7 separate regions of the Homo sapiens genome follow, and regions 2, 3, 4, 5, 6 and 7 are each linked to region 1. The links are contacts of gene promoters, found by promoter capture Hi-C in blood cells and fetal thymus (Javierre and others, 2016). All regions are on one chromosome and are shown on one strand. Each heading gives the region's core, a stretch centred on a gene start or on the middle of the fragment in contact. The rest is flanking DNA. Distances are from core to core; before and after follow the strand shown.

Region 1 (4,396 bases), core at 626-3,125:
CTCTAAGAAATATACTCGAAATGACTCTTAGTCTCCTTTCCCCTCCCCTTCCCAATACCCCTTCCTCACCAGAAAAGTATTCTTGCAATGTCCACAGATAACCCTGACACCCATGGGTTGGGGTTCTGGACTCAGAGGTCCGGGATGCACAGGCCCCAGGTTGATGATTCTTTTGCTATACAAAAGAAAAAGACTTGTATTTTCAAACTTGTGTTTGAAAAATTTTTAATCCTAAAAATCTTCACAGTCCCTGTTCCACATCCCCCACTCCCTGTCTATTAAGTCACTCGACTTCTCTGTACTTAAGATACTCTGTCCCCCAACTGTATACCCTCAAGAATCCTTGAGAAAGAAAGAGCACTGTTTAAACTTCAGGTCCCCAATTCCCCTCCGACCTCAGGATAACACACCCAGTCCCCAAGGCTCTCTATTCTCCGAAACGACATCATTTCATCTCAATATTTTTATTGAGAAACGAGAAAGACAGCTATAACATTCCTGAGGCACATGCTTCAAAGCCTTTTCTCCTAAATAAACACTAGGCTCTCTCACCTTTACATTCTCTGTATACGCTCATCCTTTTTTGACTTTCCAGTTCCCCACTTAGGCCCTTCCCCACCTTATGCCTCTTACCAGTAGGGCCGAGGGCATGCAATCCGTTGGGATGTCACTTTGCAGATAAGGAGACAGTTACAGGGGCATCGAACATATTTTTTCCCTGGGGGTGCATTCTTGATTGGCTAGAGAATAATAGGGTCATCAGCAAGCAAACCTCTAATCCCAATCCCCTCCACTTCCCTCCAAAAACACTTTATGAGATCAGAAAAATAAGGTGCTAACCAGGAAGGAGAAATAAAAGAAAGACTATATCATGAGATTTGCAAATAGGAACTAGGCTAGGTGTAAAAGTGAGAGAAAGTGAACATTAGCTTTGGTGAGTGGCTTCTGGGGAAATGGCTGTGTGAGACACCTGGAACTGAAACCTGGGTATCATCAAAAGCACTTGGCTAATAGCCGGAAGGTCAGGGTCTAGAACCAAGACATCAGAAAGAGGATCCAGGAAACAGGGCCCATTTCATAGATATGTGTAACTCACGGTGGCTTCATTGCAGACACCACATTTGACTACATGCTGATGCATCTTGCCTTCCACGTTGATGAGAGATTGGCAGACTCGGCAGGTGATCATAGGGGCACTCCCACTGTCCGGGCTAGTTAAGGGTGAATAGGGGGGTGGGTCCTCCCCAGGCAACACGGCTGGATGCCCCTCGGGAAACGGGGGAAATGCTGGAGAGGAAGCAAATAGAAGGGCTGGGATCACTTACACCCCCACTGATGCTCCACGGTGGTAGGGAAGTCCTTCTGATCTTCAACCCTCTGACCAAGCTCGGAGGGCTTCTCATAATTGGCACTTCTATCAGGTTGCTCAGAACCCCCTTCCGTCCCTAGGCTGTGGTCGCGATTACGGAGGGAAGGAAGCCTCGCCCAGTCACAGGTGCAGCAGTCCCGCACCTGGCGACTGGGACCCGCCTCCGCCCTCGGTCCCGCCCCCTCCCCGGCTTTCAGAGTACCCCGGGGAGCACCTCGGACCCGCCCCGGCTTACCCTGGGGCGGGGCATGTTTACCGGCTCCGTACGGTGGTGCGGAGGGGGTCAGGCCTCCCCCGGGCCCAGCCCCACTCCCGCCGGGCCCCACTAAACCGTTGCCGCCCGCGCCACCGTCGATGGGCTCAGACAGCAGCGGGGAACGCTCTCCATCTGCCGCCATGGCCGCCACCGCCGCCTCCCGCTCAGGTCGGCGATCCGGCTCCCTTCGCCTCTGCCGTCGCCGCAGCCACCGCCACCGCCGCCACCGCCACCGCCGCTACCGGGTCCCCAGGGCGCCTGCGCGCCGCGCGCCCAGCTCACTCCGCAACCAGTGGCCTGCCCCGCCCCGTTCCGTCTAGCAGCACGTGATAGGCTATCCCCGCCCGGGTCATGCTATTATTCGCGTAGATAAACCAATTCCTGGTCCTGTGAAGGCAGCTCTCCTTTTCCATTGGGGAGCGACGCACAAACGTCAACTGTCACATGACCTGCCAGATGCTGCTGGGCTTGCAAAACCTGCACGTGACTAGAGGTTCTGCAAGCTATTGGGAGCGACGCCCATCGCGCTACCTCCAGACCAGGAGGTAGGGCTAGGCTGCGTCTGCTCAACTGGTCACGTGTTTCTGGAAGCTGCACGGTCCCTGTTGCTCTGCTCCTCATTGGTTCAAAGACACCACTAAAACACTTTTCTCCGGCTTTGCGTTGTAGCTGGTTTCCTATTGGCTGGTGACTTTACTTCTTTCGTCCTGTGATCCTAGCGGCGCAACTGCATTGGCCCGAACTTAGCGCCAGAACATGGGGGGCGTGGCTTATGCATTTTAAAGGAGGCTGGGCGGGTGCAATAAAGGAGTGCGGAAGCTTGGGATCTTCTGAGCGGGGAGAAAATGGACGGTGGGGAACAGTAGACAAAGTTAGCTGTTCTACTCAAAGAAGTACCTTTAAAAAGTCAGAGTAATGAGGTACCAGAAGGAAATGGATTAAAAAGTTAAGATTATCACTCCAGCCTTTGTCGCTAGAGTCACTTTCAGGACAGGACACAAGACTGGGTTTTCCTGGAAGCTGTCCTTACAGAGCCCCGTCTTTCCCCATTGCTGATCAAATTGTTAAATTATCTTTTCATTAGTGTCTCCACTACTAGAAGATTTCATCGTTTTACTAAAAAAAAAAAAAAAAAAATTCAATAGAGATGGGGTCTTGCCTATGCTGGACTCAAACTCCTGAGTTTGATCTCCTGCCTAAGCCTTCCCAGTAGCTGGGACTACAGGGACAAGCCACCGTGCCTTTACTCAGTTTTATGACCACCAACCTTTAACATACGCACAAGTTTGTAGATTGGATTAATCAAATACAAGGTTATTTTCGTCACCTTATTTGACAGATGGGACAGTCTTTAGGCCTGTCTCAACTTTGCTTCCAGCAAAGGGGCAGTGCCTCCTCCCCTACCTGAAGTCTCGTGTGGTCTTTATGGGCGCCTGAACCACACCTGGATTTTTTCCCAAGTCATAGCCCAAACTGGGACTGCTTTAAATATGGGAAGCAACAAGGAATTGATAAAAACAATAAACCCCGAGGAGGTCCATTATCAGTTTGGCTAGCAGACTCTCCACTAAGAAAGGAAGTGCATCAAAGAAAGTACAGCCAGCCCCAAATATGTAATAACAAAGGAACTGCAGATGTCCCAGCACTTGGCTGCTACAGGGGCTGGAGACTTCACCTAGGTCCTGATTTTTTTAGACAGGGTTTTCTCAGGCCAACTTCTACTTGGAAGCTAGTAACCTTCGACCAGTTAGATAAGAGCCCCTAACAGACACTTAAAGAACTAAGGAAGCTCCAGATACAAAATAGGGAAGAGGTTGTAGCTCCATAGAGGGAGGCCAGTCTGCTGCTTTTTCTGCTGTTTGTGGCACACAGATGCTCAAGCATTGTCTGGGGTTGGAGTAGGATCCATTATTTGCGCCCTAGTTACACATATATTCCAAAAACTGTCCTAAAAATATTTTTTAAATATCTACACTTTGTGAAAGACACTCCTTAAAAAAGCTTACACTCTGGGTAGGGAGACAGAATAGTGTAAACATTGACAGTATAACATATCAGGTCAGGAGTGGTGGCTCATGCCTGTAATCCCGGTGTTTTGGGAGGCTGAGGTGGAGGATTGCTTGAGCCCAGGAGTTCAAGGTTACAATGAGCCATGATCTAAACCTGGGCAACAGAGCAAGATCGTGTCTCAAAAAAAAAAAAAAAAAAAAGAAAATCAGCACTAGTATTTTATTACATGGAAAAATATCAATACTAGAAATTCATGATACAGCACATGCTTCATAATAAAAGAATTAAACAATGTAATTCAAGTTCAAGAAAAGAAGAGATCACTTCTAGCTAGAGCAGCCAGAGAAAACTTCTAAAACATAAAGAAAAATGAGTATTGTGCATGGATAACTAGGATCTGAGCTCTGTGTTGTTGAGTAGATCAATAGGCAGAAAAATGCAAAAAGTAATCATAATATTTGGAACTTGCTCACAGTTAATAAAGCATTTTTTTTTTTGAGACAGAGTCTCACTCTGTCGCCAGGCTGGAGTGCAGTGGTGTGATCTCTGCCCACCTCCCGGGATCAAGCGATTCTCCTGCCTCAGCCTCCCGAGTAGTTGGGATTACAAGTGTGTGCCACCACACCCAGCTAATTTTTGTATTTTTAGTAGAGATGGGGTTTCACCATGTTGGCCAGGATGGTCTCAATCACTTGAACTCGTGATTCACCCGCCTCGGCCTCCCAAAGTGCTGGGATTACAGGCGTGAGCCACTGTGCCCG
Region 2 (4,396 bases), core at 679-3,178, 920 kb after region 1:
AGCACTGTAGGGTGAAAAGACTGCATACACAAAGAACTTCTACAGGTGGGTTCTGGACACATTAACACAAAAGCAGAAAGTCTTATTCAAGTAAGTTTTTCATAATAGCCACAGGTTTTGTTAACTGGTACATTTTTACATAGATTTGGCTCATAACTTTACACCATCAGTGTCTTATCAATATCTAACATTCTCCCAAGATGATGTCATTAAGGTAGTAAGAGGGCCAAGATAAACTTTAAAGATTTTTGAGATACAAAAAAAAATGGTGGGTGGGAAATAACTTTCATGGATTTAAAGACTATCAGTTTTATTAGGTTTGCCAACCTGTCTTCAGGCCACAGTTAATTTGTCATGTAGAGGAAGTGAGAGCTATAGATTAGTTTTCATGAATGGTATAGAGAGAATGAAATTATTTGATGAATCTGAATCACTGGGACTAGAAACAATTTTCATACCAAAGGTTCACAGTTTCAGGGTTTATGGGTACAAGAGAGGGCTTCGGATTTTTAGTACTTACTGATCATTAGAAAGTATCAAGGTTTTAAAATGTTTTTCTAACATCGATTATGTTTGAATAATATGACACTGAGAGAAGCTGCAAAAAATCATTTGGTAGAAATTAATCAAAAAATTAAAAAAAATAAAATGTTCAGTATTCATCTAGCATTTAGTTCTTATTTTTCCTTTTCATAAAATGCAAGAGAATCAATTTTATTTTCAATTATCTAATGTATTTAGCCCCAAAAGATGAAACATGCACAGACAGCTTTAATATGAATGGCAAGGAAACGACCAATTTTAATGGCTTGGTTTTAGTAGATGACCAGTTTGAAAGATAATTTACAATGCTGAAATGAGAGCTGATCATTTTTCTCAAAACGTTTTTCAGGTTAAAAAAAAATCTTTATTAGCTGTATCTTCCCTTGATGACAGGGTTCAGGGGCAAGACTTAAGCTAGCCAACTCAGACTGCATCACAGAATGCAACCAAATGTTTGCTCAATTAGTAAGTTAACATCATAAAAATAAGTTTTAACTGTGGACGTTTTTAGAGCAGCAAAACTGCCGAATCTTTAAAAAACTGGGAACTGCCACAGCTCTTTTAATGAACACGTGCCCCGGATACGCTACCAAGGAACTAATAAGGTTTTAGGCATCGTTTTGTTTTGTTTTGTTATTACTAATGCCTGCAGGCTTTCAGCGTTAGGTCCCTCTCTGTAACCCACAGCAGGGCCTAGAACATGAGGCGGTTGCGCGTGAGCAGTATTTCTTTTTTTAACTCCAGCAAAAGCCCCGCAAACGATAAACGCTAAAAGCCCGATTGACATCCTCCTTGCCCTTCCATCTCTCCTTTACGAAGACGGTTATAATCCTGGCGGGACCAGGGGTGGAATATTGTGGTTCTGGAGGGACAGAGCGAGTGCGTGAGAACACGGCAGGGGAGGGCAGCAAGACGTGACCACGGAGTAGGAGGGAAGGATGTTGCCTCTTCTAGGGCGGGAAGAGACTGCGAGAGGTGCTGCTATGCATGACCAAGGCTGGCACGCGGGGAAGATGGTGATGGCCGCAGGACAGGGTGAATGCGGGGGATTCCCTGTTAAGGGGCAGCGTTCGTGGCCGCCTCCGGTGAATGATTCGGGAGCAACGAAAAGGGTGAGGCACAGAACCCGGGAATTCCTGACCGAAAGAGAAAAAAGGGCGCCGAGAAACAGGGTTATTATGGGATGGCTAAGGGGGCTCCCTAGGAAAAATTACAGGATCTTCCTCACCCGCCAATTGCTGTACAGTCTCTTCACTCGCCGATAATAAGCGTCTTTGTCCAGAGTCACAGCCATAGCCCCGGACGCCGCTTCTCCTCGGGTTCCGAGAATCACGCGAGGTCCCGGCTCAGCCACCCGCTCTCGGCCCAGGAATCCCGCACTCTCCCAATGACCCGGAAGTATCGACCTCAAAGATGCCCTTTCCGCTTCCGGGTCCCAACAGCGTTAGGTTTTTTTTTTGTTTGTTTGTTTGTTTTGTTTTTTTCCAACCCTCTTTCGGATGGACGGGGGAAAGAGAGAAAGAAAAACGAGGGAAAATCAACAAAATGTGCGATGCAAAGAGTCGATTTTCGCGGGGTTTGTCAACTTCGCCACTGCCGCACGCGAATCGACGTCGTCACGTGACGGTCTGCCTCCGCCCTTATTAACTCTCAGCCCAGCGGCGGTTTCCAGGACCTCAGACTTTTTGCCGAGGCGGCAGTCCCTAGACGAAGCGAAGGAGGCGGCGCCTGCCCCGCCCACAAGAGCTGCCGCGCGCGGGTGTTATAGCTCCACCCCATCTGCAAAGGAAGGGGGAGCGGAAAGAGCGGGATCTAGCGTGGGATAAAAGTGGGACTACTACAGTGTAACTGGGCATGCGCCCCTCCTAGAAATGATGGGAATGCAAAAGCCCTTGACTGCTCCAGGACTCGAGGGATCCTCGGTGCCAGGATGCTGGGTCAAGCGCTCCGCCGGGACAGAGGACTCATACCAGGGAAATGGAGCCCAGCCTCGTGATAAACTACGACCCAAGCTGGGGGAGGAACCTAGTTTTCGAAAGGAAAATAATATGCGCAAGCTTTAACTGAGCAGTGGGATGGTGTAAGTCAGAGGAAACAGATGACTTGAGGGGCTCTACAAACTTTTAGTTCCTTCCCACAACCCCACCCCCTGAGCCCAAGTCGCGGCAGCATCCTTCCAGTCGGCCAGTCCCCTTGCTGCAGTTCATGAAAACTGGCACTATTCTATGGCTTCCCCCAAATAACCGTTACTTCAGTTAATTAGAAACAAAACATAAATGGTTCCTGATGACATTCTTGCTCCCTGTCTCTTCTAAAAACTTGGAGTTTGAATCCAGAAGTTTGCCTACCTACCATTTACCTTAAATAATTCCCTTGCCTTTAGCCAGCTGGACAGTCTACATTTGTATATACCCTTTAGAGGAGTACAGATGACTTGTCTGCTGTAAGGCAATTTAGTATAAACAGTATTGAACTTAAGGAAAGTGGTGCTGAAATTACCCACCATTAACAACTCAAAATCAATACACTGGGTTTGAGCAAACATAGAACAAAGGAAGAGTGGAAAAGGATTAACTTAAATTTATTAATGCCAAGGGGAAAGAAGGTAACAGTTCCTGACCCTCCAGCTGTATCCACAGTTCGGCCAGGAACAGGCTCTGCCAGAGGCTAGGGCCAGCGCTACATAGTCTGTGGTTAATGGAGGTGACTAGGGAGGGGTGAGCACACCAGCTGCTCTAGTCTCCTTTCCTTCCCCAGAAATGAGGAAGTGGTCATGTATTATTTTAGGAGTTCCCCTGCCCACCCAATCCTCTCATAATTGGGAGCAATCAGGTACATTTTTTTTTTTTTTTCCTTTTCACCTCCTGGAGTCCTGGACTTCCCCACATCTCCCCTGCCCCTCCCACGTTTCCATAGTCCAAGGGCCAGAGTAAATGAAAATACAGCAGCCGCCCAAGCAATGGGGCCCATGCTGGGGCTTCAGTCATCAGCATCTTCACTGGAGTCTGAGTTAGCTGGCATCATAGGATCATCAATGAGTGAGAAGTCCCTTTCTGAGCTATCATAGCCCTGAGATAAGTCATCATCATCTTCTTCATCCTCATCGTCATCCTCCTCAGGTTGCAGTGGTGGCAACCGCAAGGTAGTACCAGAGGCGGTAGTCACTGGTGAAGAGGGGTAGCCAGGGGCTCTCAAGCCTGGATGGTGATGGTGGTGATGGTGGGGGTGGGGGTGGTGGTGGTGGTGATGAAGCATGGTGCTGGAGTCTACATGAGGGGATGATGGTGCACCACCCATCACAAATGGCATAAAAGGCAAAGATGCAGAAGTGGCACTGCTGTGACCCAAAGATGACACAGACTGTAGGCCACTACTGCTGTGTTGGAACGTGTTATGCAGAGATAGAGACCCAGTGCTTCCACCCTGCATGAGGGCCATCATCTTAGAAAGGTCTGGTCGCATCCTACGGGCCCGCTTCTTGCTGCTCTCTGGTGCAATAGGCCCTGGCAAAACCCGGTTGAACACCGTTTCAGTGTGATGACCCTAGGAGGAGGGAATAGAAGATAATAAAAAGAAAGAAAGGGGAAAAAAGAAAAGAAACCAAAGCCAACAGAGTCCTAGCTTACAATGCTTTTTTACTGAATGTACCTTAGAAGAGGCAAAACAAGCACAGCGATACTAGGCTTGATTGGTGGTAATGGGAAGGAGGAAATGCTGGACTTAGCTGGTTGAAACATTCTGATACTAAAGTTAAGATCAATGATTTTGTACCGAAACTCATATTAACCAGTTTTTGCTTCTTTTCCCCATGACTATATTGTATCTTTACTTTAGTCAACCATTTCACAAATGC
Region 3 (4,396 bases), core at 698-3,197, 850 kb after region 1:
ATGGTGTTTTGCCATGTTGCCCAGGCTGGTCTTGAACTCCCAGGCTCAAGTGATTTTTCCACCTCAGCCTCCCGAGTAGCTGGGACCACAGCCACACGCCACCACACCCGGCTAATAGTTTCTATATTGTGCAGAGACAGGGTTTCGCCAGATTGCCCAGGCTGGTCTCAAACTCCTGGGCTCAAGTGATCTGCCTGCCTTGGTCTCCCAAAGTGTTGGGATTACAGGCATGAGCCACCGACCCTGGGCTATTCTATATGCTGATGTATTATTCTAATTTTTCACAATGAGCATGTATTCATGCATTAATTTTATAATTAAAAAGAACTGGAAGTGGCCTGGCATGGTGGCTCATTCCTGTAATCCCAGCACTTTGGGAGGCTGAGGCAGGAGGATCGCTGGAGCTCAGGAGTTCACGACCAGCCTGGGCAACATGATGAAACCCCTTCTCCACAAATTATTTTAAAAATTAGCCAGCCAGGCGCGGAGAATCACTTGAACCCAGGAGGCAGAGGTTGGGGTGAGCTGAGATCAGGCCATTACACTCCAGCCTGGGCAACAAGAGCAAAACTCTGTCTCGAAAAAAAAAAAAAAAATAGCCGGGCAGCTGGGCGCAGTGGCTCATGCCTGTACTTCTAGCACTTTGAGAGGCCAAGGCAGGCAGATTGCCTGAGCACAGGAGTGTGAGACCAGCCTGAGCAACATTGCAAAACACTGTCTCTACTAAAAATACAAAAAATTAGCTGGGCGTGGTGGCAGGGGCCTGTAATCCCAGATACTTGGGAGGCTGAGGCAGGGCGAATTGCTTGGACCCGGGAGGTGGAGGTTGCAGTGAGCTGAGATTGCACCACTGCACTCCAGCCTGAGCAACAGAGCAAGACTCTGTCTCAAAAAAAAAATTTGGCTGGGCATGGTGGCGTGCATCTGTATTCCCAGATACTCAGAAGGCTGAGGCAGGAGGATTGTTTGAGCCTAGGAGGTCAAGGTTGCATTGAGCCATGTGCAGTGCAGTGCAGTGAGAAAGTGAGACTCTCAAACAAAAAAAAAACCTGTAAGTAAAAGAAAAAAGTTTTTAAAACTTAAAAGTGCCAGGCTGTGCGCGGTGGCTCATGCCTGTAATCCCAGCACTTTGGGAGGCCGAGGTGGGTGGATCACGAGGTCAGGAGATCGAGACCATCCTGGCTAACACGGTGAAACCCCGTCTCTACTAAAAATACAAAAAATTAGCCAGGCGTGGTGGCAGGTGCCTGTAGTCCCAGCTACTCGGGAGGCTGAGGCAGGACAATGTCGTGAATCCGGGAGGCGGAGCTTGCAGTGAGCCGAGATCGCGCCACTGCACTCCAGCCTGGGCGACAGAGCCAGACTCCGTCTCAAAAAAAAAAAAAACAAAAAACTTAAAAGTACCTTTGATCTAGTAAAAGGCAGCAGGGGGTAGATTGAGGAGGTCTTACGGGAGCATCTGGGAACAACTGATGTTCTTCAGCTCAGTGAAATAAAGCAGTGTGGGGAGTATCCACTTCGATAGACATTACTCTGTGATAGACATTACTATTTGCCTCTCCCCTTCATCACTCAAAATACTATTTTCTTGAGTCCTTACATGATATATGGTCAGGCAATGCCAAGAAATGTTAATACTTGCCTAAGTAGGTTATTATTATTATTATTATTATTTTTTTTTTGAGGCAGAGTCTCACTCTGTTGCCCAGGGTAGAGTGCACTGGTGTGATCTTGGCTCACTGCAACCTCTGCCTCCTAGGTTCAAGTGATTCTCCTTCCTCAGCCTCCCAAGTAGCCGTGACCACAGGTGTGTGCCACCATGCCTGGCTAATTTTTGTGGTTTTTTTTTTTTTTTTTTTGAGACAAAGTCTCACTCTGTTGCCCAGGCTGAGAGTGCAGTGGCGCAGTCTCGGCTCACTGCAACCCCTGCCTCCCGATGTTTAAGCTATTCTTCTGCCTCAGCCTCCTGAGTAGCTGGGATTATAGGTGCCGGCCACCACACCTGGTTAATTTTTTGTATTTTTAGTAGAGACGGGGTTTCACCATGTTGGGCAGGCTGATCACCAACTCCTGACCTCGAGATCTGCCTGCCTCAGCCTCCCAAAGCACTGGAATTACAGGTGTGAGCCACCGCGCCCAGCCAATTTTTGTATTTTTAATGGAGATGGGGTTTCACCATGTTGGCCAGGCTGGCCTCGAACCCCTGACCTCAGATAATCTGCCCACCTTGACCTCCCAAAGTGCTGGGATTACAGGTGGGAACCATCCAGCCTGGCCGGTAAGTTATTTATTTATTTCTTGAGACGGAATCTCACACTGTTACCTGGGCTGGTGTGCAGTGGCACGATCTCAGCTCGCTGCAGTGTCCGCCTGCTGGGTTCAAGCAATTCTCCAGCCTCAGCCTCCCAAGTAGCTAGGATTACAGGCACCTGCCACCACACCCAGCTAACTTTTTGTATTTTCAGTAGAGACAGGGTTTCACTATGTTGGCCAGGCTGGTCTCGAAGTCCTGACCTCATGATCTGCCCTCCTCGGCCTCCCAAAGTGTTGCGATTGCAGGCGTGAGCCACTGTGCCCAGCCTGGTAAATTATTTTTAAACCACATTTACTAAAATGATAAATAAGAAATAAGACATAAAAAGAAATAATTGTTTGATTATTAGTGTCATTTCATTTGTATGAATGACCAAGAACTAGCCATGTGGCTGGGCATGGTGGCTCACACCTATAATCCCAACACTTTGGGAGGCCGAGGCAGGTGGATCACCTGAGGTCAGGAGTTCAAGACCAGCACAGCCAACATTGTAAAACCCCGTCTCTATTAAAAATACAAAAATTAGCTGGGCCTGGTGGTGGGTTACTTTAATCCCAGCTACTCAGGAGGCTGAGGCAGGAGAATCGCTTGAACCTGGGAGGCAGAGGTTGCAGTGAGCCAAGATTGCACCCCTGCACTCCAACCTGGGTGACAGCTCGAGATTCTGTCTCAAAAAAAAAAGAAAAAAGAAAAAAAAAGGAACCAGCCATGTGTATTTTATACTCAAAATGGGTCTGCTCTGACAGCTTGATACAATAGGGTGGAGGATACAGTTGTTGAAAAGTTTAATTCCCGCCCTTCAGCATAGTAATTTATAATCTAGGTCAAAGACAAATATTCTCTAAACTCACCGTTGGTGAAGGTAGATGGAGGCATGGGGTTTGAGAAAAGGAAGATTTTGTTCCTCATTTCTAATCCGGCAGGCCTGAGAAGGTCTTGATACATAGTTCCCTGACTAAAGAAAGCCATCATGGTGGAGAAGTTCCTTGGGAAATGGATATGACTTGGGGTGTTTGCTCAGTCAGATATCTGAGACCTAAACAGAAATGGTACTGAGCAATAACTCAGTAGGACTCAAAAGTTCCAAGGCAGTTGGTAAATGACAGTTATGAATAAAGCAAGGGCAGAAAAAAACATGTAGGGGAGAGAATGAGGAACTAGGTCCAGGAGATGCTGAAACTGGATAATAAAGACGTCATATCACACCCCTTGGGGTATCCATCTGAGAGCTTGCTTTCCATTGCCAGCATGCTGGACAGCAGTGACAGCTCCAGTCAGCCCCACTGGAGCAACGAGCTCATAGCGGAACAGCTACAGCAGCAAGTCTCTCAGCTGCAGGATCAGCTGGATGCTGAGCTGGAGGACAAGAGAAAAGTTTTACTTGAGCTGTCCAGGGAGAAAGGTAGGCTGGACCTTGAAGAGCTCTCTCAAATGTGGCATCCTCTACCTCTGGTTTGGGAGAAGATAACTTGAGCCATCATTTCTTTAATCCCCTCACTTGATCCTATTCTTTTGTGGGTTGTAGGTAACTAGAATGAGAACACTAGCAATAGATCAGATCTACAATCAGGAAAACATGACACTTACCTACCTCTCATGTATACTTTTTCCTATATAATGTCTTTCCATTTGAGAAGATGCTAGTTTTTGTTTGTTTGTTTGTTTGTTTGTTTTTGAGGTGGAGTTTCGCTCTTGTTGCTCAGGCTCGAGTGCAATGGCACGATTTCAGCTCACTGCAACCTTCACCTCCCAGGTACAAGCGATTCTCCTATCTCAGCCTCCCAAGTAGCTCGGATTACAAGCATGCACTACCACGCCTGGCTATTTTTTTTTTTTTGTATTTAGTAGAGATGGGGTTTTACCATGTTAGTTAGGCTGGTCGTGAACTCCTGACCTCAGATGATCCACCAGCCTCAGCTTCCCAAAGTGCTGGGATTACAGGCGTGCGCCACTGTGCCCGACCTGCCAGTTTTTAATTTATTATGTTTTTTAAACGTTCAGTTTATTGAAAGTTTTCTTTTGTTTGGTTTGGTTTGGTTTTGTTTCTGAGAGAGTCTCACTCTGTCACCCAGGCTGGAGTAC
Region 4 (4,396 bases), core at 1,077-3,576, 800 kb after region 1:
AATAGTTTATCCTCTTCAGAATACCTATTTTAGTTAGAGGACTGGAGGAAAATTTTTGTTCAAAATGTACTCTACTAAACTCCTAAATGTTATTCAAGACTAGCCAGAAAAGCCTAAATCTGGTTCAATGAACTCCTGGAGTTTTTTCAGTTTTAAAATCAACTCAGGAGCCATAGGTCAATATAATTAGAAAACAGGAAGAATATTTCAGACTGGTAAAGTCAGAATCAGATTAGGTAGAAATAATAAAAAAAAAGTTCTCTAATTCACTCTACCTCTTACAAATAGCCATGCTTTCTCAGTAGAGAATACATATTTTTAAAATGGTCAAGCTCTCCCAAATGTTGATACAGGCAACACGGTAGTCTATGTGCTCAAATGCTAACTCGACTCTATCACAGCTAAACCTTTTAAAGCAGTTTCTTCAACTATTAACACTGCTTACTAAACCCCTATTACACAGACTAGCTATGCTATTTATGCCCACACAGAATCACAAGAGTTGATGTACATTTTTAAGCTTTTTAATTAGAAGGAAAATACTACCACATTGATCATTATAATAGTCTTAAGCACATAGTACACAAGTTTCAAATCTCCTAAATCCCACTTCTTGCCCAGAGGCAATCAATGTTAATTGTTTGGCATATGTATTTCTGGACATATCTCTTATGTCTTTACATAGAAAAAAACAAATTCTACAGTTGGTGATAAGTGCTAAAGAGTATTTAGGAGAAGGGGAGCTTAAAGCGCTAAATAAGGGAAGACACATCACTAAGGGGGTAGCTTCTGAGTAAAAAGTCTCAGAGGAACTGAGGAACCAAACTGTATGAGTCAGAGAAAATTCCAAGGAAAAGCCCTAAAGTGGAAACATATCCAATGTGTTCAATACAGTTAAGAAGGCCAGTGTGGCTGAAGCACAGTATATTAACAGCAAGGGAAGGGACACAACAAATCACGTGGGATGCCCTGTAAATCACAGAAAAATTTTTGACTTCAATGCTGAAAAAGGCAGCCATTAGGTTGTTTGTTTTCAGGCAAAACATTTTTCAATGGCCAGGCGTGGTGGATCACGCCTGTAATCCCAGCACTTTGGGGAGGCAGAGACGGGCAGATCACAAGGTCAAGAAATCGAGACTATCCTGGCCAACATGGTGCAACCCTGTCTCTACTAAAAATAAAAAACAAATTAGCTGGGCTTGGTGGCTGGTGCCTGTAATCCCAGCTACTTGGAAGGCTGAGGCAGGAGAACTGCTTGAACCCGGGAGGCAGAGGTTGCGGTGAGCCGAGCTCGCACCACTGCACTACAGCCTGGGCAAAGAGAGCAAAACTCCATCTCCCCCCCAAAAAAAAAATCCTTCAAACAATACATTTTAGGATCAATCTAGCTATCACTTTTAAGAACAAAACTAGTGGGGAGGGACAAAAGAAATACAAACCTATTATATATAATAATGCACAGGAGACAAGGGTGGCTTGAAATTGGACCAAGTGTCGACAGTATGAGTAGTGGTATATTTTGAAGAGCTGACAGCATTTTTTCCTTTCTTTTTTTTGTGATAGGGTCTTGCTCTGTCACCCAGGCTGGAGTGCAATGGTGCGGGTGCGATCTCGGCTCACTGCAACCTCTGCTTCCTGGGCTCAAGCGATTCTCATGCCTGTCTCTCAAGTAGCTGGGACTACAGACACTTGCCACCACTCCTGGCTAATTTTTGTATATTTTTGAAGAGACAGGGTTTCACCATGTTGCCCAGGCCGGTCTCAAACCCCTGAGCTCAAGCGATGCGCCTCCCTCAGCCTCCCAAAGTGCTGGGATTACAGGCCTGAGCTACCACACCTGGCCAACATGATTTTCTAATAGGCCAAAGGTGAGAAGAGTAAAAGTCAAGGATGGCTAGCCAAAATCTTTGGCCCAAGAGACACAAAAATTGTTTCATTAACTGAAAAAGGCAACAGTACACAAGAGACTGGTTTGAGGCATGAACATCAGGAGCACAGTTTTGCACTTTTAAGTTGACATATTGGATATTCAACAGAGTTGTCATGCAGGTAAACTGAATTGGTATGACATTCGAAAGAAAAGTATAGGCTGTTGATCTTAAGTGTCGAAATCAGCTTATAGGTGGTATATTACATCATGAATGAATCTGAATGAAATTGGACCCAGAGTGTGGACAGAAAAGAGAAGTGGAAGGACTGAACCATGGGGCACTCCAACAGAAAGAAGTTTAACATGTAACAGAAACATGTAACAAAAACCTGGAAGCAAAGTAAAAAAAAAATAAAAACGTTTCAAGGAAGAGATCTGGTTAAATGGAACCAACAGGTCAAGTGAGATGAGGATTGAAAAAGGACCCCTGGGCTTAGTTAATGCATCCGTCTCCGTGGTTCTTTTTTAACCACAAATAATTTTTTTCTAACTGAAGTTCACTTCGGTTTTATAAGTCTTAGAAAAAAAAAAAAGATAGCTCACTTTTGTTTTTTTACTTTAAGAGATAGGGTCTCACTCTTGTCACCCAGGCTGGAGTACAGTGGCGCAATCATAACTCACACTGACCTCAAACTCCTGAACTCAATTAATTCTACCGCCTCAGCCTCCCAGGGAGCTACACTACAGCTGTGTGCCACCGTGCCCAGCTTTTTGTAGACAGGCTCTTGCTATGTTGCCAGACTTTCCTGGCCTTAAGCTATCCTCCAACTTCAGCCTCCCAAAGTGCTGGGATTATAGGCATAAACTGCTGCAACTGGCCTAAAGCTCACTTTTAAAATGTGCTTGCTTCCCTATTAACAATGCCATCACAACCATGGTAACATTTTACCAAGATACATCTACCTAAACATTAACTACCTTGCACATATACACATCTTTAAGCCATTTAAGGTGTTGGGAAATCAAGGGCAAAAATATAAACATATTTAGTTTTAAAATTTTAATAATAAAAGTCCAAAGTTGTTCTTTGGAACTTTAACCAAACTAAAATCTGTTTTTCTAGAATGCTCAGCCGGACACAGTGGCTCACGCCTGTAATCCCAGCACTTTGGGAAATCGAGGTGGGCGGATCACGAGGTCAGGATTTCTAGACCAGCCTGGCCAACATGGTGAAACCCCATCTCTACTAAAATATAAAAATTAGCTGGGTGTGGTGGTGCATGCCTGCAATCCCAGCTACTCAGGAGGCGGAGGCACAAGAATCGCTTGAACCCAGGAGGCGGAGGTTGCAGTGAGCCAGAGATCATGCCACTGCACTCCAGCCTGGTGACAGAGCGAGACTATGTCTCAAAAAAAAAAAAAAGTTCAACATATCAAAGTGACGAAAGGAGTCTACTATCATTAAGTGTTGAAATCTGCACCCTTAATCCCAGGGTTGAATCCATGCTAAACCACTAAAGCAGTTTAACTTTAGGCAAGTTATTTAAATTCTGTACTCCAATATTCTCACCTCTAAAACATGAATAACAGTATCTACTCCTACTCAAGGTTTTGATGATGATTAAGTTAACACAAACTCACAACTTTAACAGTGTTGGACATAGTCAAGTGTTTAGAATACTTCCATAAATTAATGTCCTGCTACTTTTTTCTGCCAAATCAGAAAGCCATTATATGACCCAACAAGGTATCAGAAATAATTAGTAATTTCCTGGAGCCTCATCAGTTCTCAACCTATCTTACTCAGACTGATTTTGCTCATTAATACACCCAATAAAAACTCATTTGAAAAACCAGGGCAAGTTATTGTTAGGCTTGGGATGATTATTTTCTTCAAGAGATTGAGACAGTGGCCTACTCTAATAGGTCTCCAAACTTACTGCCCTACTTGCCCTCTTAGTTCTCATCACTAATATTCCCTACACAACAGAAGATAAACCAGACCTCTTCTTCAAAATCCTTCAATAGATTCTACTTGTGCCCAAGACAGGATCTTAAACAAGACCCTCTAAGGTCCCGTGCTATGAAATGTTTGGTCCTTGCCTACCTCTCTAACTCCATCCCTCATCTATGTATTCTTGGTAATTATTTTCCAGTATTATTTCTTACTTGGAGGCCAAGTCTTGTTCCCCCTCATTATCTGTGCTTTCACATATGGTTTTCTTACAGAATGAGCTTCACCATTAGCTACTTCCACGTAGCTAAGCTTCCCTGGCAGCATCCCCCAAATTCCATGTTCTAATTTTGGTTCCCTTGCCATCTTCTCATCCACGCTCTTCTTTTCCTTCATCGATCCTTACTGTGAAAAGTGCCATTTACTTTGTTTCTTCCCTCAATGATCTATAATATCTAAGAGGGCAGGGGACATGTTTTGTTCATCCCTATATGCCCAAACCTAATGATTTTCAAATAGTACTCAGATACTTAATAAAACATCTTATACTTGAATGTTCCTTGAATACCTCC
Region 5 (4,396 bases), core at 315-2,814, 650 kb after region 1:
TTCTCATACTACGTGTCCAAAGTAGGCTGGCAAGGGATTCTGTTCATTGCAAATGTTTCCTCCCAAGCTCATGGAGCGCCACCATTTTGAGATCCTACCCTGTCCCTATGAAGGTTAAGGTTACCCGCCCCGCGCCCCCCGCCTCAGAATGTGAAGTAAGCATGAAGAATTGTTCATGGACTCTTAAATGCTGCCCTGAAGTGATACATTCATGTCACTTCCACCCATTCAATGGCCAAAGCAAGTCATATAGCCACACCCAACTTAAGGAAGGCCAGAAGGGCAATGCCTGCAAGGAGAGGGGAAGCAGAAATACTTCATTAAAAGAAACATAGTTGGGCGGGCTCGGTGGTTCAGGCCTGTAATCCCAGCACTTTGGGAGACCAAGACGGGTGGATCACCTGAGGTCAGGAGTTCGAGACCAGCTTGACCAACATGGTGGCCGTGTCTATTAAAAATGCAAAAATTAGGCCGGCATGGTGGTGGGTGCCCGTAATCCCAGCTACTCGGGAGTTTGAGGCAGGAGAATTGCTTGAACCCAGGAGGCAGAGGTTGCAGTGAGCCAAGATCGCACCACTGCACTCCAGCCTGGGAGACAAAGCGAGACTCTGTCTCAAAAAGAAAAAAAGAAATGGAATTAATAATTTGTGATGATTTTTGAACAGCTTAGCAGTTGAAATTTATCTGTTCCAGCAGTTATGCCCATACCTACTTCTTTGGTTTGGTTTCATGAACCCCTAAGTTCTTACTAGAAATTTTTCCTCAAAAAAATAATAGGACTGGGACTCAGGAAACCTAGATTCTAATTTTGTTGCTTGGGCAAGTCAAACCTCTCTGAACTACATTTTGTGCACTTGGAGGTTATGGTAATATTTATTCTGTCTACCTTACTGGAGTATCAAGGCTAAAATAAAATCACACAAGGAAAAGTACTTTAAAACTATAAACCACTTCAGGGGTTAAAAATAAATTGCCTGTAGAGGTAAGAAGTAGTTTAAATGATAATTTCTTAAAACTCAAGAGCCAGTTCAGCTATAGTTCTTCAATCATCAGTCTGCATTAGATAAACATAGTAGGAATTCAGGTTTTGGATATATGTTACAGTTCATGTAGACCTTGCAAAGTCCAAGAGTCTTCGATTAAATATTAAATTCTTAAAACCTTTCTGATAAAACCTTTTTCATCATATCCCTCTAGGGCATTGGTTCTCAGAGAAAGGTCATTTCGTTCCCCAGAGGATATTTTGCAAGGTCTGGAGACATATTTGTTAGTCACAACTGAGGAGTGGGGGAGGAGGGAATATGTAACAATGGAAGGCGCAGTAGATGAGAAGTCAGATTTGGGATTTAGTTCCAGTGCTGCTAATGCCGCTTTCCTGTGCATTATCCTCTGCCAGCTGCAAGCAAAGACTATTGGAGACTTGTCCTGTGTTCCTCATTATTCCCCCTCCACACTGCCTATTGCCACAGTCCCGGGCTGCTCCATGACAGCGTTCTGCTTTGCTGCAGTGATTCCCAGCAACCACTGTATCTGCCTCTTTCTTCATCAGTTTGGCAGCCTCTGTGGAGGTCACTCATTTTACTTGAATGGGAACTTCACTGAAAGAAGAAACTGACAAGGTTTCTGCTGACGTCAGTTTTTAAAGGCCGTGACCCCTATCTATTCTTTTAAACATTAAAGAAATCCAGTTCATGATATGTGGCTTCATATGCAGCTGTGGCACATTGGTGGTCGGGAAATTCTCCATGTGAATACATTTTACCCTCATTTCTTTGAAATTCTGTCATTTATTCTGGCTTTTAATACGTGATCATAGACAACTGACAGTATTTCACAAATGAACTCTTTTCCGTTTCTGAATCTGCCTTTTGGCAAGATGGCTCAGGTTTTGTGTCCAGGGCTGTGTCCTCTGCTGCCATCTCGTGGCCTCTTGGCTGCCCAGGTTGAGGTCTCACAAAGTGCCTTTCCTAAGGTAATGGCATTTGGCAGTGGCTTAGTTGGGGAAAGACTCTCCTCTCCATGGTGTGGGGCGCTCCCCAAGTTCCTCCTCTGCAATGGGCCCCTGAGGGCAGCAGCACACTCGGCCTGGCTGGAAACCTGGGCCTCACAATGAGGCAGGAGGCGGAGGGCCCCTCCTGGTCTTCTGCAAACCCTTGGGCCTCTGTGTCTGTTATGCAGTCCTGGCCAGGAGCCACCAAATTCAGTGAACCCAACTACCCAGGGGTAATTGAAGCTGACCGCGCCTGCCTGGCCTGAAGAATGCAGTCTCTTGCCCCTTGCCACCTGGGACTGGGATGCTCTTAATTTCAGTAAGAAATGAAGAGTCTCCCAACAGGTTTCTGGATTCTAGGCCCACACAAAATGGGTCTAGACAAGAAAACAGAAGGGTGTGTTGCTCTGCGTCCACACCCTTCATCCTGGCGGGCCCAGCCAGTGCTGCCTCAAATTTGACATTTGATTAATGGGCTGGCGGGACAGTGGCAGTGGTGTTCTCACTGAGTCACTGTGTTTCCTATAAATATGACAGGATCTATGTACTACAGTGATCAGAGGTCCATCTCCAGGGAACTGGGAATGTGAGATACTGCCCTGACCTGGGCTGCTGCTGCTGGTGACTAAGCAGTGAGCACAGGAGGGAAGGCAGGAAAATGTTTTTAGTTGCTATTTTTTTCATTGTGATAACATGTGTGTATACACACACACACACACACACACACATATGTATATATATATAACTATATATATACCTATATAGTTAAAATCTTCCCATTGCTAACAAATTCATACAACTTTCCCCTAGTTGTTAGCCCCCTCTCCTGACTCCACCCAGCTCCCATAACCCCTAATCCCAGCCTTCTCAAAAAAAAAGGAGGAGGAAGAGAGGAGGAGGGGAAGGAGAAAGGAAAGGAGGAGGAGGTGGAAGAAGAAGAAGACTGCTTTTGGTGTTTGCTTTAACCTGATGTCCCCATTATAATAATTCAGAAGGAAAGGCCTGCTCATATAATTTCCTACGGCCTCAGGCCAGAGACAGCCATACTTACAGGTAAATTGCTACTAGGCTGGCTTCTCCTTAAAATTCAGGTGCCATTTACTATCATCTTCTGTTTCTTTTATGTTTTTCCTTGTTTGCCTATTTTTTTTTCTGACTTATTTCATTTATATTTTGTGTTGCCTACTTTTCTTGGTTCCACTTAGCATCTGAATCTTTGGTTTATTTTTCTTATCAGAAGCTTTTCCTAATTTCTGTCCAGAGTTAATGAATTTTCTTTGTTGATTCTTGACAGTTTTCCCTTGCCATCCATAAAGTTTTCTTGTTTTTACCCAAGTCCAAACTACTAAAATATAATTTTATTTGCTTTGCCTCGTTATATGCTCTCTTTATATATAAAGAAAATGCTATGTGCTCGCTCTTATTCCTTTTTGGAGAGAGGGTCTGGCTCTGTTGCCCCAGGCTGGAGTGCAGTAGCGCGACCTTGGCTCACAACCTCCGCGTCCTGGGCTCAAGCCGTCTTCCCAGTTCAGCCTCCCAAGTAGCTGGGACTACAGATGTATGCCACTACATCTGGTTAATTTTTGTATTTTTTGTAGAGAAGAGGTTTCACCATGTTGCCCAGGCTGGTCTCCAACTCCTGAGCTCAAGCAATCCACCCAACCAAGCCTCCCAAAGTGCTGGAATTATAGGCATGAACCACCGCGCCCGGCCCACTCTTATTCTTTATGTAAAGCTAAAGTCATAGCACAGGAGAAAGAGAATTTATGCTTTTATAAGCCTCAAAGATAATTATGATGAAAAGAAATTGTTCTTTGCGTAACTAAGAAGTGAAACTGGGTCCAGTGGTTACTTGTTATAGAGAGGCCAATTTTAGACTGAAAAATAGAAACTGAACACCTTTCAAAAGATGAAATGCTTTCAAGTTGGGCTCTCAGCCTGTGGATATGTTAGAGCTGTTTTGTGCAATAAGCTTTCTCATGCAATGACAGGTTATTGAAGCAAATATTCAAATATCAGCTGAGTGGTTGAATTAGATGACTTTTAATTTCTCTGCCAACACTCAGATTACATTGGCTTTTCAGCCGTGATGATGTTTTTTAATTGACCCATCCATACTCTCCAATGTCTCGCCCTGGACAAAATTGTAAAATAAGATGCTGGTATTCCTCTAGTCCCTAGAACTGAATGTATCCATCTTGGCACCATTGATATTTGGGCCAGGTAATTCTTTTTTATGGAAGACTGGTGCATTGTAGAATGCTAAGCAGCAACCTTGGGCCCTACCTACTTGATGTCGGTAGCACCCCTCCCTCCAGTTGTGACAACCAAAAATATCTCTACACATTGCCAGATGTCTCCTGGGAAGCAAAATTACTTCTTTCTCTGAAAAACAATGCCTTAGAA
Region 6 (4,396 bases), core at 658-3,157, 610 kb after region 1:
GCTCGAATGCGCACCATCAAGGCCTCCTCCTCCCTTCCCACAAGTTCCTCTTGTGACTTTTTTCTCTTTCAACTGCCCCCACCCGATTCTTTGTAATCCAATCCCACATGCTCTAAGATTGGGTGATTGCTTCAGAGCCACTGTGGGAGAAGGAAGAGGGATGCTAGAAAGACCCAAGACAGTCACAGACAGTCTTTCCATCCTCCTCTTTCCACCAAATGACCATCTCTAGCATATAAATGAGCATCTCTCTTTCACCAAATGATCATCTCTGGGACATAATTGTGGGTGATGGCACCTCCACCTAAGATGGGGAGCCCTGGATGGTGGGTCTTATGGGAAGGGATTTGCAGGATGGCTGTGTGGAAATCTCCCTCATCCCCTCGAGTTCTCAGCCATAAGCTCAGTCCCCTGATAGCCCAGAAGCCTGTCTTTTCTCTCCTGGGAAAGATCTATGCAATCACCCCAACTCACGAGCACCCGGAACAGCCCTGATCAGGGGCATTCACAACAAATTCTCCCTGGATCTCCAAAGCCAAGGTCTCAGAGCGGGAGTGTTGAGCGCCCTGCCAGGTTTGTGCACTCTGGCCCAGCCCCACTCCTGTTCTGGGCTCATCAGCCAGCATTTCCTGAGTGCTCACTTTTTGCCCACATTGTACAATCGGGGCTTTGGAGAACACAGCCAACCCCAGACCAGTGCAGCTCCCAAGGAGCCATGATTGGGTGATCTCTAGGGATCTGTAGCCTGGTCCTATCTCTACAGGAGCCTGAGCCAGTGGAGGACTGTGTGCAGAGCACTCTCGCCGCCCTGTATCCACCCTTTGAGGCAACAGCCCCCACCCTGTTGGGCCAGGTGTTCCAGGTGGTGGAGAGGACTTATCGGGAGGACGCACTGAGGTACACGCTGGACTTCCTGGTACCAGCCAAGCACCTGCTTGCCAAGGTCCAGCAGGAAGCCTGTGTGAGTGGCCGTGCATCACTATTCTGCCTTCCCCAAGATCCACTGCCACACTCTACAGACTAGCCAGGCTGACTAATGCCCCCACTAACCTAGAGATACAGCCTCCCTTGAAACCGATCTCTCCAGAATCACTTAAGCTTCATTCTCTGACCTCTCACAAACTTTGACCTTCACAGGCACTGACCATTCAGATGCTAACACACACACACACACACACATTCATCTTCCCCAAATTCATCTTGACCCCAATACTGACCCCCAAAGACCCTAACTCTCCAGACCCAATTCCAGACATCTTCTCCCCCTCATATGAATTTCTCAAGACACTAACTCCCCCGTACATTAGTCAACAGAGATCATTCATTTCTACAGATATAAAGACTCCTAAGAGTCTTTAGCTTCTCCAAGACAATGGCATCTGCTGACCATGTCTTGGTAACGATTCAGTTCTTACCCTCCCACACATGGAACTAGCTTCCTGAAGAATCTTCCTACTACTGGGAGACCGATCAGTCCCAATCCCTTCCTCTCTGCCACCTGAATACCCCAAATCTCCCCTCCTGCTCTCCTGAGAGTATAACCTTCCAGGCATAAGGCTGGTCCTGCCTAGGGTGGGCCCATTCTAACTGCCCTCTCCTGCTGGTTTCTTCAGCAGAGGCCTGAGTGCAGCCTCCCACCTCTCTCCCCAGGCCCAATACAGTGGATTCCTCTTCTTCCATGAGGGGTGGCCGCTCTGCCTGCATGAACAGGTGGTGGTGCAGCTAGCAGCCCTACCCTGGCAACTGCTGCGCCCAGGAGACTTCTATCTGCAGGTGGTGCCCTCAGCTGCCCAAGCACCCCGACTAGCACTCAAGTGTCTGGCCCCTGGGGGTGGGCGGGTGCAGGAGGTTCCTGTGCCCAATGAGGCTTGTGCCTACCTATTCACACCTGAGTGGCTACAAGGCATCAACAAGGACCGGCCAACAGGTCGCCTCAGTACCTGCCTACTGTCTGCGCCCTCTGGGATTCAGCGGCTGCCCTGGGCTGAGCTCATCTGTCCACGATTTGTGCACAAAGAGGGCCTCATGGTTGGACATCAGCCAAGTACACTGCCCCCAGAACTGCCCTCTGGACCTCCAGGGCTTCCCAGCCCTCCACTTCCTGAGGAGGCGCTGGGTACCCGGAGTCCTGGGGATGGGCACAATGCCCCTGTGGAAGGACCTGAGGGCGAGTATGTGGAGCTGTTAGAGGTGACGCTGCCCGTGAGGGGGAGCCCAACAGATGCTGAAGGCTCCCCAGGCCTCTCCAGAGTCCGGACGGTACCCACCCGCAAGGGCGCTGGAGGGAAGGGCCGCCACCGGAGACACCGGGCGTGGATGCACCAGAAGGGCCTGGGGCCTCGGGGCCAGGATGGAGCACGCCCACCCGGCGAGGGGAGCAGCACCGGAGCCTCCCCTGAGTCTCCCCCAGGAGCTGAGGCTGTCCCAGAGGCAGCAGTCTTGGAGGTGTCTGAGCCCCCAGCAGAGGCTGTGGGAGAAGCCTCCGGATCTTGCCCCCTGAGGCCAGGGGAGCTTAGAGGAGGAGGAGGAGGAGGCCAGGGGGCTGAAGGACCACCTGGTACCCCTCGGAGAACAGGCAAAGGAAACAGAAGAAAGAAGCGAGCTGCAGGTCGAGGGGCTCTTAGCCGAGGAGGGGACAGTGCCCCACTGAGCCCTGGGGACAAGGAAGATGCCAGCCACCAAGAAGCCCTTGGCAATCTGCCCTCACCAAGTGAGCACAAGCTTCCAGAATGCCACCTGGTTAAGGAGGAATATGAAGGCTCAGGGAAGCCAGAATCTGAGCCAAAAGAGCTCAAAACAGCAGGCGAGAAAGAGCCTCAGCTCTCTGAAGCCTGTGGGCCTACAGAAGAGGGGGCCGGAGAGAGAGAGCTGGAGGGGCCAGGCCTGCTGTGTATGGCAGGTGAGATGACACGGAGTGAGGCTCATGGGGCAAGGGCCAAAGCAGGTCGGGCCTATGGGAGGGGGCAGGAGGAGGAGCAGGGTTAGGCTGGGAGCAGAACAACCAGAACCATCTTAACTTCAGTCCCATGTTTCTGTCTGTGTCTGTGCAGGACACACAGGCCCAGAAGGCCCCCTGTCTGACACTCCAACACCTCCGCTGGAGACTGTGCAGGAAGGAAAAGGGGACAACATTCCAGAAGAGGCCCTTGCAGTCTCCGTCTCTGATCACCCTGATGTAGCTTGGGACTTGATGGCATCTGGATTCCTCATCCTGACGGGTCAGTGGGCATCAGTGGGTGAAGGGAAACAGGACTGGGAAAGAGAAGCAATTGGGTGGGCTTGGGGACTGGGGGAGGCAGGGTGGAAAGGAGGTAGGCATGGACTGCTCCCAGCCAGGACAGCCTGGCCATTTTGTGTCTTCAGGAGGGGTGGACCAGAGTGGGCGAGCTCTGCTGACCATTACCCCACCGTGCCCTCCTGAGGAGCCCCCACCCTCCCGAGACACGCTGAACACAACTCTTCATTACCTCCACTCACTGCTCAGGTAACCGAGGCCCAGTCCTGGCACCCTGGACACTAACCTCCTGATTCATGAGGACCCTCACCTCCTTCTTCTCAGGACACTGACCTTCTGACCTCTAAGGACACCTACTTCTTCAACCTTCAGACTTCAAGCCATTGACCTTTGGCCTTACTTACCCTGACCTCCAGCTTCATATCTTCACTGATCTTCAAAAGCAACACTGTTGACTTTCACTCTCTTCCAACCCTACCAAGATCATCAGGACATTGGTTCACTGATTCAACAAACATTTATTGAGCACTGAGTACCTATTAGGCACCATACTACAGGCTGATATTGAATGCACGCCATTTCAGAACAGAATTCTTAATTTTCCAGACCTTAATCCCTTGACCTAGTAGCCATATGAATATAGACCCCTGACTGCTAGGTGACTTCCTCTTGTACACACACCCCAGAATTTGGCCCTTTGCCCATTTCTTCCCAAATGTACCGGCAACTAATTTCTCCTCAGGACTATTAACTAAAAACAGACCCCGTATGTCTGCCTTGCCTTATCTGCTATCCCCCAAAACACACACACAGCAGCCTCCTTGGCTCTTCCTGCTCCCGCAGGCCTGATCTACAGACACTGGGGCTGTCCGTCCTGCTGGACCTTCGTCAGGCACCTCCACTGCCTCCAGCACTCATTCCTGCCTTGAGCCAACTTCAGGTAACCACCCCTCAAACAGGCAGTTCCCCTGGATCCTAACTCTTCACCAGTGGCCAGTCCAGGACACCCGATTGCCCAGTTTAGGGTTATTCTTTTCTGCCCTTAGGACTCAGGAGATCCTCCCCTTGTTCAGCGGCTGCTGATTCTCATTCATGATGACCTTCCAACTGAACTCTGTGGATTTCAGGTTTGAGCCCTTCATTCCCATCTAGTTTCCCATC
Region 7 (4,396 bases), core at 820-3,319, 580 kb after region 1:
CTCCAGCACCACTTTTGCTTCTAAAGATCCTTCATCCTGACCCCCAACCCACAGCTGTGCTGTCCAGCTACTAAAATAATGTCCTCCTGGCCTCAAAACAAACTCCCCATCCTCCTGACTTAGAATCATAAATTCTGGACCAGAACACAAACTTTATGATCAGGATGGGTTGTGCGACTTCTCCACAGTTATAATCCACACAACAGCCAGGTAATCCTTTAAGCTGACACGTTCTTTATTCATCTACTTAGAACCCTTCCAGGGTTCCCTACTGTGCTTGGAGTAAAAGCCACAGGCCTTCAAATGGTCCGTAAGTCTTCCCAATGACCTGGTCTCTGGTCCCTCTCTGAACTCTCAGTTACCTGCTCCAGCCACACTGGACACACTGCTGTTCCTCCAACACCTCAGGCATCTGTCTGCTCTGGGGCTTTTGCAGTGCTAGTCTCTTCACTTGGAACATTCTTCCTCCGGATAATCACAAGTTCACTCTTATCTTCAAGTCTCTGCCCCAGAGTCAGCGATTTCAACGATGTTACGTAAAATTACTGACCACCAACCCCTATACTGTTCTACTTTTTTCCCTAGCCATTATCACTTTGAGCAAAGTATACGTATTTTTTTTTACTGTCTTTCTCCAATGGAATGTAAGCTCTACAAAGGCAGGGACTTTTGTCTTTGTTTTTTGTTGTTGTTTGTTTGTTTGTTTGTTTGTTTTTTGAGACAGGGTCTCACTCTGTGACCCAGGCTGGAGTGCAGTGGTGCAATCATGATTTTCACTGCAGATTTTATCTCTCAAGCTCAAGCAATCCTCCCTCCTCAGCCTCTGGAGTAGCTGGGACCACAGGCATGCACCACCATGCCTGGCTAATTTTTCAAATTTTTTATAGAGACAGGGTTTCGCCACATTGCCCAGGCTGGTCTTGAATTCGTGGCCTTAGGCAATCCTCCTGCCATGGCCTCCCAAAGTGCTAGGATTACAGGTGTGGGCCACCGTACCTGGCCATTTTTGCCTTTTTTGTTCAGTGATATATCCCAAGTATCTTGACACTTAGTAGATGCTCGATAAATGTTTGTTGACCACATGAATGAAGCATGCCCAAGATTCTGAGATTGCCTACTACTTACAGGTAAATTCTGAAAACAAAAATATTCCTCATCTCAGTTTTACAGGCCTTCTCACCCACAGAGGGTGATGCTTCTCTGCCTTGGTGTCTCGGTTCTCCTGAGTGTCATATTCCAAGCTCACAAGAGCTTGGAGTAGCACTGACCCAGATGCTCCACACAGCTGTAACCACCACAAGGAACAGGACATACAAGGTGAAGGAAGCACTAAGGCAGGATGTCGAGAGCAGCAACAGCATTTTAAACACAAACATTTGGGCAGTATTAAATTTTTGCAATTTTCAATAAAAAAGGGAGGGAACAAGTGAAATTGAGAGGTGTTGGCTGCCTTCTCCAGCTAAAGCCATGTGGCCTTGGTTGGTACCTGGAACTGGAGAGGCCTGTGAATCATTGTGGAATGGCTTCGCTATTGGGGATGGTGCCAGGCCTCGTGACAGTGATGATTCATTCACCCACTTCCCTCGTGTCTGTTCCATCTCCTCCGAAAGATAACCAGTATCTCCAGATGACAAGGAACCAGACAAAGCATCTTTCTAGGCTGTCCTATCTGTGCCTCAGGTCAGAGAAGAAGCAACCCTTAACACCACAGTGATTGACTCTTCCCAGGATCAAGGGCCAGAAGTGTATATGAGAGGATATGAATGACAACTCTTCCTGAAATTGATTTCAGTTGACACCTGGGTCAGGTGCTCTATTAAAGAGTCATTAAAATCATGTGGCCAGGGAACAAATACAGTCTTCGAATGTGACGATTCAAGCTTCCTCATTGCTGAACATGTTTAGGCAGGTACAGGCATCCTTAGGTGTCCACGTATTTGGGACATGTAAGTGGAGAGGCATGAACCTGATTCATTTCCTGATCCAGTGATGCTCCCAGCCCACCCCCAAACAGACACAGCGTAGCCCGGGCCAGCTCTTAAGGAGTTCAGGAGTGAGAAGAGGCCCTCAGAGATCTGACAGCCTAGGAGTGCGTGGACACCACCTCAGCCCACTGAGCAGGAGTCACAGCACGAAGACCAAGCGCAAAGGTGAGGCTGTGGCAGGATCTGGGGAGGAGTGAGGACAGAGAAGGAGGGATGGGTTCTGATCCTGAGAGTACACTCAGGTGAGCGATAAAATGGATAAAGGAGGGACTGGATTTAGGGGAGATGAGGACACGCATTGGGGAAAGGGGAGAGTGATGTTGGGGATGGAGGCAAAAAATGAAAAAGAATGGGAACACAGACGAGATGGGAATCGGGAGAGGATGAGACACAGACACAGGAACATGGAGACACAAAAGGGATGAGACTTAAGGGAAAGGGGAGAGGACAAAGAGTGACAGGCAACAGGGACAGAATGAAGGGAACAGAAATACAAGATGAGAGATGGGGCCACAGGGTTGTTGTTGGGGCTGCAGTGGATGTGGACACACAGAAGAAGAGGCAGAGATGAGACACAAAGTGAGGAAAGGAGACAACCGAGTAGGGAGATGGGTGACTAGCTCATATGAGCAGGTATAAGAGGACTAATTTCTCAACTGAACACCTCTGTCCCAGCGACCCCTGCCCTCCATCCTGACTGCTCCTCCTAAGAGAGATGGCACCGGCCAGAGCAGGATTCTGCCCCCTTCTGCTGCTTCTGCTGCTGGGGCTGTGGGTGGCAGAGATCCCAGTCAGTGCCAAGCCCAAGGGCATGACCTCATCACAGTGGTTTAAAATTCAGCACATGCAGCCCAGCCCTCAAGCATGCAACTCAGCCATGAAAAACATTAACAAGCACACAAAACGGTGCAAAGACCTCAACACCTTCCTGCACGAGCCTTTCTCCAGTGTGGCCGCCACCTGCCAGACCCCCAAAATAGCCTGCAAGAATGGCGATAAAAACTGCCACCAGAGCCACGGGGCCGTGTCCCTGACCATGTGTAAGCTCACCTCAGGGAAGCATCCGAACTGCAGGTACAAAGAGAAGCGACAGAACAAGTCTTACGTAGTGGCCTGTAAGCCTCCCCAGAAAAAGGACTCTCAGCAATTCCACCTGGTTCCTGTACACTTGGACAGAGTCCTTTAGGTTTCCAGACTGGCTTGCTCTTTGGCTGACCTTCAATTCCCTCTCCAGGACTCCGCACCACTCCCCTACACCCAGAGCATTCTCTTCCCCTCATCTCTTGGGGCTGTTCCTGGTTCAGCCTCTGCTGGGAGGCTGAAGCTGACACTCTGGTGAGCTGAGCTCTAGAGGGATGGCTTTTCATCTTTTTGTTGCTGTTTTCCCAGATGCTTATCCCCAAGAAACAGCAAGCTCAGGTCTGTGGGTTCCCTGGTCTATGCCATTGCACATGTCTCCCCTGCCCCCTGGCATTAGGGCAGCATGACAAGGAGAGGAAATAAATGGAAAGGGGGCATATGGGATTTGTGGACACAGCTGTTTCTGTTCCTGAACTAGAAGTCTTCCCCAGCTCTGACGTGGCAGTGAGGTGACCTGAAGGAAAGAAAAATATAAATAAATACCACTTCATATTTGTATAGAATCCTCTAATCCCTTGTGACATAGACTTGACAGGGATTGTATGCCTTCTTTATGGATGAGGAAATTAAGGTTTTAGAAAGCTTAATGAATTAAAGAGCTTGTCTAATTAGTTAGTAGCAGAACCTGGACTTGAACCTAGGTCTCCTTGCTCTAAATACAGTGTACCTTCTACTCTACCAGTTGCGCAAGAAAGAAGTCACTGTTACAGAGGCAAGCGGTGAACTAGGTAAGAGTTCACTCATGAAGAAACGAGTGCTCTGAAGAGCCAGTTACCCTGTGTTGGCTGCAATAAAGGTCATTACCTCTCTAGCCAAGAGATTGTTTATGAGGTGCTCTGGCATTTTATTCCTTCTCTCTCTTCCTCTCTAACTGCCCCTCCCGTTTCTCTAGACCACTGCTCTTCCAACCTAGGCCCTGGACCTGGCTCTGGCCAGATCCCCTTGGCCTGAAGACATAAGGTAAAGGGAGTGTCTGAGCTTCATCCCCCAGATCCAGGATCACATTTCCTTTGACCTTAAGGGACTTCCGTGGCCCTGAGCCTGCTTGTCACAAACAGGCTGGTGGGAGCTGCCAGAGCTTCCTTCCTCCTGATAATGATCTCCCCTGCCTCATTGCTACCCTGGCTCTCCACTCTGGCAGTCTGCCCAGGCCTGAGGGGTTGAGATGCGAAAATGCCATTTCCCTGTCCCCCTGGGCTACAGATACCATTTCTCTCGTTCTGGGGACTGGAGCTGGAGAAGGTATGGCTTGGTATTGGCCAGTCCTGATG

The links. The method cuts DNA at HindIII sites, captures the fragments that hold promoters and counts their contacts. A CHiCAGO score of 5 or more calls a contact.
Region 2: the fragment with the promoter of SUPT16H here is called in contact with the fragment with the promoter of PIP4P1 in region 1 in 1 of 17 cell types (monocytes); the score reaches 7.3 in monocytes.
Region 3: a contact is called between a fragment that was not itself captured here and the fragment with the promoter of PIP4P1 in region 1, in 1 of 17 cell types (monocytes). The highest score is 6.0, in monocytes.
Region 4: a contact is called between a fragment that was not itself captured here and the fragment with the promoter of PIP4P1 in region 1, in 1 of 17 cell types (monocytes). The highest score is 5.8, in monocytes.
Region 5: a contact is called between a fragment that was not itself captured here and the fragment with the promoter of PIP4P1 in region 1, in 2 of 17 cell types (fetal thymus and monocytes). The highest score is 6.9, in fetal thymus.
Region 6: a contact is called between a fragment that was not itself captured here and the fragment with the promoter of PIP4P1 in region 1, in 1 of 17 cell types (neutrophils). The highest score is 7.3, in neutrophils.
Region 7: the fragment with the promoter of RNASE7 here is called in contact with the fragment with the promoter of PIP4P1 in region 1 in 1 of 17 cell types (M2 macrophages); the score reaches 5.0 in M2 macrophages.

The regions. Positions count from the first base shown.
Region 1 is chr14:20,459,559-20,463,954 of GRCh38, forward strand. PIP4P1 (phosphatidylinositol-4,5-bisphosphate 4-phosphatase 1) reads right to left here and starts at 1,876. Exons shown (of 7, transcript NM_144568.4): 1 at 1,626-1,876; 2 at 1,097-1,287; 3 at 634-740; 4 at 70-175. The coding sequence starts at 1,767. RefSeq lists enhancers at 1,196-2,162, 2,091-2,160, 2,163-3,128, 2,461-2,540 and silencers at 1,331-1,500, 1,561-1,970. The HindIII fragment of the contact is 6,669 bases long and covers 1-2,442 here.
Region 2 is chr14:21,382,091-21,386,486 of GRCh38, forward strand. It overlaps SUPT16H (SPT16 homolog, facilitates chromatin remodeling subunit), which reads right to left and starts at 1,929. Exons shown (of 26, transcript NM_007192.4): 1 at 1,772-1,929. The coding sequence starts at 1,837. CHD8 (chromodomain helicase DNA binding protein 8) reads right to left here. Exons shown (of 38, transcript NM_001170629.2): 38 at 3,109-4,086. The coding sequence ends at 3,523. It overlaps LOC107984643 (a long non-coding RNA gene), which reads left to right and starts at 2,183. Exons shown (of 2, transcript XR_001750627.2): 1 at 2,183-2,623. The HindIII fragment of the contact is 3,293 bases long and covers 1-2,598 here.
Region 3 is chr14:21,314,135-21,318,530 of GRCh38, forward strand. It overlaps RPGRIP1 (RPGR interacting protein 1), which reads left to right. Exons shown (of 25, transcript NM_020366.4): 11 at 3,562-3,716. Among named protein-coding and RNA genes, the nearest start is that of RPGRIP1, 36 kb to the left of the region's middle. The HindIII fragment of the contact is 7,906 bases long and covers 1-4,396 here.
Region 4 is chr14:21,255,111-21,259,506 of GRCh38, forward strand. The region is part of intron 2 of HNRNPC (heterogeneous nuclear ribonucleoprotein C); the gene reads right to left. Among named protein-coding and RNA genes, the nearest start is that of HNRNPC, 12 kb to the right of the region's middle. RefSeq lists an enhancer at 1-137. The HindIII fragment of the contact is 3,616 bases long and covers 519-4,134 here.
Region 5 is chr14:21,105,117-21,109,512 of GRCh38, forward strand. No RefSeq gene overlaps it. Among named protein-coding and RNA genes, the nearest start is that of TMEM253, 6.2 kb to the left of the region's middle. The HindIII fragment of the contact is 3,328 bases long and covers 1-3,228 here.
Region 6 is chr14:21,072,282-21,076,677 of GRCh38, forward strand. It overlaps ARHGEF40 (Rho guanine nucleotide exchange factor 40), which reads left to right. Exons shown (of 24, transcript NM_018071.5): 2 at 764-961; 3 at 1,651-2,899; 4 at 3,051-3,218; 5 at 3,364-3,484; 6 at 4,079-4,175; 7 at 4,282-4,362. Among named protein-coding and RNA genes, the nearest start is that of ARHGEF40, 4.2 kb to the left of the region's middle. The HindIII fragment of the contact is 1,623 bases long and covers 1,097-2,719 here.
Region 7 is chr14:21,040,293-21,044,688 of GRCh38, forward strand. It overlaps RNASE7 (ribonuclease A family member 7), which reads left to right and starts at 2,070. Exons shown (of 2, transcript NM_032572.4): 1 at 2,070-2,150; 2 at 2,661-3,941. The coding sequence starts at 2,701. The coding sequence ends at 3,171. It also overlaps a transcript of NDRG2 not described here. The HindIII fragment of the contact is 1,827 bases long and covers 1,879-3,705 here.